2 separate regions of the Homo sapiens genome follow, and region 1 is linked to region 2. The links are contacts of gene promoters, found by promoter capture Hi-C in blood cells and fetal thymus (Javierre and others, 2016). All regions are on one chromosome and are shown on one strand. Each heading gives the region's core, a stretch centred on a gene start or on the middle of the fragment in contact. The rest is flanking DNA. Distances are from core to core; before and after follow the strand shown.

Region 1 (4,415 bases), core at 157-2,656, 280 kb before region 2:
GTCATGATATTAAATTATTTTAAATTCTTTTTAGGCATTCCAAAGAACATGATTTTGAAAAAAATCTTAAGATCAAAGTTTTATTATTTTGTTTTTTTCCCAGCCCAAAATAAGAAACGAATGAAAGAAACTGTAGTAACTGCCTGCCTATCAGAGCTCCGCATCTCATTTTTTGGCTCCACAGCTAGGCCTGCACTGTGCTCTTATTTGTCCTTTCATCAGTGTTTACGGTCTTTATTTAGATTTGCTGTTTTTAGTGCTTCGGGAGACAGATGTGGGAGGATTGCTTTAAGTCAGAAGTTTGGGACCAGCCTGGGCAACATAGTGAGACTCCATCTCTATGAAAAATTTAAATATTAATTGGATGTGGTCTTGTGTGCACCTGCAGTCATACCTACTCAGGAGGCTGAGGTGGGAGGATCACTTGAGTGACCATGCCACTGCACTCCAGCCTGGATGACAAGGCAAGATTCAGCCCCTAAAAAAAAAAAAAAGGCTTTGCTGTTTTGGTTGACAACTCAGAATTATGTTAAATAATCAAGCAATTTATTAGTTATTTCTGTTAAATTACCTAATCATTTTGACCACTATGTGAACCAATGAATTTCTTGCTCATAAATTAGTTTGTCGTGTTCAGAACACATTAGTCAGGCAGTCTATGAGAATACTGTCTTGCTTCACTGAACTCTGGGACATCAAAATAAAGTTGCTCCTCAACAAATTTGAGTTACTTATTGCTGCCCCATCTGTTAATAGGAGTAAAAAGACTATTGTTGAAGAATTGGCTATTAACAGTTCCAAATCCATTGCAGAGGCCAGTGGTCAAACAAACTTGAGCCCCTTTACATAGGATAACTGCGTCTGTGAATCTCTCTTTATGTATCTGGGGTTAATTTGGTGCTAGGATCGCTCCACCTGCTGAAAAAAAAAAAAAGAATCCAAGCTGTGATACCACACACCTCCTTGACCCCAGGTTTAGTCATAGGTCCCTATTACAGTCAGATTTTCCCTTCTAATAGTTCTAGAATAAGTTACTATGTCTACTACTACTACTACTGGTAGACATAGTCCCCTAGACCTTAAAATGAGCTAACTTTTATGCAAAGGCCAATCTCAGGGAAAGAACTCTCCCATGCCCTCCCTTGATGTGCAGATCCCACCAGGTGGACCGCGGGTCTAACTCTTTGCCCAATGAAGGACATAAGCAATTTGAAGGAGGATTGAGGAGGCCACAAATATTCTAGAGATATGGAAATTTTCTCAGAACCAAGTAAGACTTTCTAAATATCCCCTGTAATCTGGAGAGTCTAAGGTCAATTAAATATTCCCAGGTCTAGAAGATGACCCAAGACCCAGGCTTCTGCTTAGATGTTAATTTCATGGTTCAGGCATGAGTAGTTCTGGATGCCTATCAAAGTTCTGCAACTATTTATGAAAACTTTGCCATGAAATTTGCTCTTCTATGCCCTTCATTTATAAAATACTTGCATGGTTTTTATGGAGATTTGTCGGCTAATGAATAAATTTTAAAAGTGCTTGGCTTTGTACTCACTAATAATTGGCATATTACTAATCAATTTAGGCACAATTTTATTTTGTGCCAGGCTTTCAGCTCCAGAGTGAATGTTATCTAAAGCCATGTATTTCAAACTATTCATGATACAAAGCTAGGTAGTAATAATTATGAAATAATTTACATTAATACAGTAGAATAGACTAGAACATATTCAAGAGCACCACGTAATTATAAGCATGTGTATTATTCCCTGAAAAATTTGTTTCAGATTATATATGTGGAATCTGATATAAAATATGTTTCTTAATATGAGTCATATGCTACAAGCTAGAAAAACACTGATTAAAAGTTTACTCTTTTAAATCATTTTGTTTAATCTGATAGAAACTAACCTGTGCTCTTGGTGGAAAGGAGAGGTCCATCATGCAAAATACTGAATATCCTAGCAGCTTTTATTCTGATCTTGTTAACATGAATTTGCCAGTAGTTTAGTGATTTTAAAAAATGGATGAGCCTCTAGGTGGGAATTATATTAAGTGATTTAGCTTTGCACTAGCCAATGGTTTAACAAGATTGGCCCAGAGTCTGTAAGTTTATTGCTTAAAATCAGTTATCTTGTGCCAAATGTACCCTTCCAAGAAGAAAGCATTATGACATAAATCACATTGATTCCCTGAGATTGTAGCCAGACTGCATTGTTGTAATGATAGTACAGATATACGGTTGGTGAAAAATATCTTTTAAAAAATGAGCAGATAAAAATCGATTCTTCTTCCTTTCTGTGCTCAGAAATCTGTTGCATATAATGTAACAATACTGCTTTATAAAATTAGCTTCACCTGTCTTGCGTTAACTATATCCAGCAGATGAAAGGAATTCCTAATGAAATGGTTAAAACCAATTGAATAAACATTCTTGGTAACTAATGACAACAGTCCAAGAATATAGGGACCTGATTCTTTCATTTTCCCAGCTCCAGGGAATTAAAGTCTCACATAACATGGGTTTCTCTCAGTGTTTTCCACTCCAACAGAAGTTTCCTTTGTAAGACTTCTGCAAATAGCATACCGATGGGTAAAGAAACAGCTTTTTAAAAATCTGTTCTGTTTTTCCCCCAGATTTTTCAAATATATTAACTTTGGTTTCAACTCATCTTTCCCACAGAAAAAGTGGGGGGGAAAGTGCTTGTTTTCATCTGGCCTGGGCTGCAATGTTTTCCTTCAGAACAGAGAGAAGTTGAGAGGGCATCTGTCTGGGTCACAAAGACAGATCTCAGCTGTATTTTCCAATGTGCAGGTAGGTGGTCTCAGTGTCTTTGGCAGAATACAGAAGTCAGATAATAAAATGACTCCAGGGACAGAGTACCCTTGTCAACCTGCCATCAAAGACTGTAGTTTCTCCTCTGCTAGCATGACAGGGTTGTTCTCTTCAATGTTGCAAACCTTCAGAAAACCCCAAACTTTGTAGAGTAAGGAATTCCAAATGAGTCCCTCCTTGAAAAAAACAGAAAAGAAAAAAATTCTTTAAGACATGTGTAGACCACATCAGTGATACATGAACCACAGCTGAATTTTATAAATGTCTTGTGAACAACACAAGACATTTATAAATGTCACATGGGACATATCAGTGACCCATAGCTATGGTAAACAGCTGTTGAGAGAATCATATGCCAACCACAGAAAAGACATGCAAAACACTAGATCTACACAAGCTAGGTTGACTAATGCAACTGATAAGGTGTAAAATTCTGCCAATCATTCCATTCATAGGCGTGAAGCCATGAAACCTTATGATCAATTAAATCAGATCTATCATACTATTTTGCAGAAATCTTCTATAACATTTATATATTTAGAGATTCCTGATTATGCAAATTGTGGCCAATGACATGTTAGTGGCTTGGGGAAGGTACTAGATAGCCTTAACTAGCTAGTTCTATGTGAAATAACCAAGTTATTTCATATTCATTAGCATATCCATATGAGAATACATTTCTTTCATCCTATTTACTTTAGCTTCATTTCCATATGCTATTTTTTAAATATATGGCAAAAAGAGAAAGCAAACAAACCAGACACTGAATTCTCAGTTACTTAGGCATTGCAGATTTAAATGGTCCTTAAAGGATACAAAAGAACCGAGTGGGAATCAGGGATGGATATATAAAGAAATGGTACTTTTCCAAAGTCTAGAAGAAGAGATTGAAAGATGACACAAATAACATTTTTAAATGCTTATATTAGAGGTATGCCTAAGTCATATTTCTTATGAAAGCATTTATAGTCTAGTAGAAGCATCCAGGCAGAGTAGAATTCCCTGGGTTAAATAACTCCAAGAGCACAAAACATTACCTTCTACTTTTAAGTATGAGATCACTAGTCAAATATATAATTTTTATAGCACATTATTGCTATTATTTGCATCTTCAAAGTCATTTTTTACTTCCACAATATATTCTTACTTCATTCATGTTATGATTAAACTTAGTTATGACAATTATTGAAATTTAAATACAACCTAGAAGTCTTAACCACTACTATTTTATACTTGCACTAGCAATTTAGTTCTATGTATTATTGCATGAATAGCATGAAGTTAATGAAGAATAGGTTATGATTTCAATCCTTGGGCAATCTAATTAACTTTCCAAGGTCACAGAAAGCAGCCTTGTCCCAAGCAGCCCTTCACAAGTATAGGCCTTTTGCCCTACAGTAGATTGGATAGATAGGAAATAGGGGCAGAGTTCCATCTCTAATGCTGCACACCACTGGAACCCTAGGACTTAAGAGTCAGTGAGTTCTACAAAAGAACATTTTGTTTTCATTTCAATAATTATCAATCATCAAATGGGTCAGAAATACTGAACCAAAAAGCACAGATGCCATATATGCCTAGG
Region 2 (3,970 bases), core at 45-2,544:
AGATTCCAAATGAAAGCACAGTGAATTAGTTGGGTCTTTAGTGAAGCTAAGTAGCACTATATTAAGAAATGGAGATATGCTTAGGTTTATTGGCCATATTCAACATCTGCACACACCCAGGGAGAATAAAGCCTATTCTTTCCTTGTCCTGACCTCACTCCCTCAGGCTGCATGTTCCTTGGGTAATGAGAAGTCACAATCACTATTCATAGATGTGTGGGGAGTCACTAAAAATATATTATTCACTGTCAATCTTAGTTTATATCCAGATACAACAGGGTACACTGCTCTTGTAATGGAATCAGACTTCTTATTTTAACAAGACAAACCAAATCCAATCCACATTTGAAGATTATAGGTTTTAATATAAGAAAATGCACTCATTTCTCAAAGACCCTAGTGAAGCTGTGTTTAAATGCTCCTAGGTGAACCCCCTTTGCATCCCAGTGTTCCCACCCTGACACCCAGAGCCCCTACCTACCCAACACAGAATCATTTGCTCTGATAGAACAATGGATCCCTTTTTCTGGAAACATTGATGGCCACTCCTCCCTTGTCCTTGCCTATATAAAACTCCTACATATATTAAGAGAAAACTAAGCAAGAGTTTTGGAAATCTGCCCCAGGAGACTGCATCCTGAGTCACACGCGTCTTTGTTCTCTTTCTTGTCCCAAAACCGTTACCTCAAGTGACAAATGATCAAATCTCAAATATAGAATTCAGGGTTTTACAGGTAGGCATCTTGAGGATTTCAAATGGTTAAAAGCAACTCACTCCTTTTCTACTCTTTGGAGAGTTTCAAGAGCCTATAGCCTCTAAAACGCAAATCATTGCTAAGGGTTGGGGGGGAGAAACCTTTTCGAATTTTTTAGGAATTCCTGCTGTTTGCCTCTTCAGCTACCTACTTCCTAAAAAGGATGTATGTCAGTGGACAGAACAGGGCAAACTTATTCGAAAAAGAAATAAGAAATAATTGCCAGTGTGTTTATAAATGATATGAATCAGGAGTGGTGCGAAGAGGATAGGGAAAAAAAAATTCTATTTGGTGCTGGAAATACTGCGCTTTTTTTTTTCCTTTTTTTTTTTTTCTGTGAGCTGGAGTGTGCCAGCTTTTTCAGACGGAGGAATGCTGAGTGTCAAGGGGTCAGGATCAATCCGGTGTGAGTTGATGAGGCAGGAAGGTGGGGAGGAATGCGAGGAATGTCCCTGTTTGTGTAGGACTCCATTCAGCTCATTGGCGAGCCGCGGCCGCCCGGAGCGTATAAAAGCCTCGGGCCGCCCGCCCCAAACTCACACAACAACTCTTCCCCGCTGAGAGGAGACAGCCAGTGCGACTCCACCCTCCAGCTCGACGGCAGCCGCCCCGGCCGACAGCCCCGAGACGACAGCCCGGCGCGTCCCGGTCCCCACCTCCGACCACCGCCAGCGCTCCAGGCCCCGCCGCTCCCCGCTCGCCGCCACCGCGCCCTCCGCTCCGCCCGCAGTGCCAACCATGACCGCCGCCAGTATGGGCCCCGTCCGCGTCGCCTTCGTGGTCCTCCTCGCCCTCTGCAGCCGGGTAAGCGCCGGGAGCCCCCGCTGCGGCCGGCGGCTGCCAGGGAGGGACTCGGGGCCGGCCGGGGAGGGCGTGCGCGCCGACCGAGCGCCGCTGACCGCCCTGTCCTCCCTGCAGCCGGCCGTCGGCCAGAACTGCAGCGGGCCGTGCCGGTGCCCGGACGAGCCGGCGCCGCGCTGCCCGGCGGGCGTGAGCCTCGTGCTGGACGGCTGCGGCTGCTGCCGCGTCTGCGCCAAGCAGCTGGGCGAGCTGTGCACCGAGCGCGACCCATGCGACCCGCACAAGGGCCTATTCTGTCACTTCGGCTCCCCGGCCAACCGCAAGATCGGCGTGTGCACCGGTAAGACCCGCAGCCCCCACCGCTAGGTGTCCGGCCGCCTCCTCCCTCACGCCCACCCGCCCGCTGGAAAAAGAAACCGCTCGGACTGAGTTTCTTTCTCCAGCTGCTGCCAGCCCGCCCCCTGCAGCCCAGATCCCAACTCGCATCCCTGACGCTCTGGATGTGAGAGTGCCCCAATGCCTGACCTCTGCATCCCCCACCCCTCTCTTCCCTTCCTCTTCTCCAGCCAAAGATGGTGCTCCCTGCATCTTCGGTGGTACGGTGTACCGCAGCGGAGAGTCCTTCCAGAGCAGCTGCAAGTACCAGTGCACGTGCCTGGACGGGGCGGTGGGCTGCATGCCCCTGTGCAGCATGGACGTTCGTCTGCCCAGCCCTGACTGCCCCTTCCCGAGGAGGGTCAAGCTGCCCGGGAAATGCTGCGAGGAGTGGGTGTGTGACGAGCCCAAGGACCAAACCGTGGTTGGGCCTGCCCTCGCGGGTGAGTCGAGTCTTCCTCTAAGTCAGGGTCGTGATTCTCTCCCAGGGAGGGAGTCCTAACTGTGCCGACCGAACGGGGGAAATACCTTATCCAGGCGTTTTACATGGTGTTTGTGTGCTCTGCTCTCGCAGCTTACCGACTGGAAGACACGTTTGGCCCAGACCCAACTATGATTAGAGCCAACTGCCTGGTCCAGACCACAGAGTGGAGCGCCTGTTCCAAGACCTGTGGGATGGGCATCTCCACCCGGGTTACCAATGACAACGCCTCCTGCAGGCTAGAGAAGCAGAGCCGCCTGTGCATGGTCAGGCCTTGCGAAGCTGACCTGGAAGAGAACATTAAGGTACATGTTCTGCTCCTATTAACTATTTTTCACAGGAAAAACAGTGGATAGGACCCAACTTAGGGCTCTTGCCACGCTTGTTAGTATAAGCCCGTTATCTCCAAAACTATCTAACCATTGAGCTGTTTTGCTGGAATGAGAGCTTGTGTAATAGCAACCACCAGTTTTCCACTACGAAATCTTCCACAGGGTTAGTTAATTCAAGACATTCCAAGAGAGGCTCTGGCTATTTTTGGACATAGCAAATGAGACTCAAACTTCCTCCCCTCAAAATATAAACAGAAGTCAGACAACAGAAGACTAAAACACAGAGGGTTGAAGAAAGCCACTCCTCTTGTAGAGTCGCTGATTTTTTTTTTTCCTCTCTCTTTTCCCTTGTCTTCCTTAGAAGGGCAAAAAGTGCATCCGTACTCCCAAAATCTCCAAGCCTATCAAGTTTGAGCTTTCTGGCTGCACCAGCATGAAGACATACCGAGCTAAATTCTGTGGAGTATGTACCGACGGCCGATGCTGCACCCCCCACAGAACCACCACCCTGCCGGTGGAGTTCAAGTGCCCTGACGGCGAGGTCATGAAGAAGAACATGATGTTCATCAAGACCTGTGCCTGCCATTACAACTGTCCCGGAGACAATGACATCTTTGAATCGCTGTACTACAGGAAGATGTACGGAGACATGGCATGAAGCCAGAGAGTGAGAGACATTAACTCATTAGACTGGAACTTGAACTGATTCACATCTCATTTTTCCGTAAAAATGATTTCAGTAGCACAAGTTATTTAAATCTGTTTTTCTAACTGGGGGAAAAGATTCCCACCCAATTCAAAACATTGTGCCATGTCAAACAAATAGTCTATCAACCCCAGACACTGGTTTGAAGAATGTTAAGACTTGACAGTGGAACTACATTAGTACACAGCACCAGAATGTATATTAAGGTGTGGCTTTAGGAGCAGTGGGAGGGTACCAGCAGAAAGGTTAGTATCATCAGATAGCATCTTATACGAGTAATATGCCTGCTATTTGAAGTGTAATTGAGAAGGAAAATTTTAGCGTGCTCACTGACCTGCCTGTAGCCCCAGTGACAGCTAGGATGTGCATTCTCCAGCCATCAAGAGACTGAGTCAAGTTGTTCCTTAAGTCAGAACAGCAGACTCAGCTCTGACATTCTGATTCGAATGACACTGTTCAGGAATCGGAATCCTGTCGATTAGACTGGACAGCTTGTGGCAAGTGAATTTGCCTGTAACAA

The links. The method cuts DNA at HindIII sites, captures the fragments that hold promoters and counts their contacts. A CHiCAGO score of 5 or more calls a contact.
Region 1: a contact is called between a fragment that was not itself captured here and the fragment with the promoter of CCN2 in region 2, in 2 of 17 cell types (megakaryocytes and endothelial precursors). The highest score is 6.5, in megakaryocytes.

The regions. Positions count from the first base shown.
Region 1 is chr6:132,229,395-132,233,809 of GRCh38, reverse strand. No RefSeq gene overlaps it. Among named protein-coding and RNA genes, the nearest start is that of LINC01013, 99 kb to the right of the region's middle. The HindIII fragment of the contact is 6,063 bases long and covers 1-4,415 here.
Region 2 is chr6:131,948,696-131,952,665 of GRCh38, reverse strand. It overlaps CCN2 (cellular communication network factor 2), which reads left to right and starts at 1,294. Exons shown (of 5, transcript NM_001901.4): 1 at 1,294-1,559; 2 at 1,674-1,896; 3 at 2,123-2,374; 4 at 2,506-2,717; 5 at 3,106-3,970. The coding sequence starts at 1,494. The coding sequence ends at 3,402. The region is part of intron 2 of CCN2-AS1 (CCN2 antisense RNA 1); the gene reads right to left. The HindIII fragment of the contact is 12,519 bases long and covers 1-3,970 here.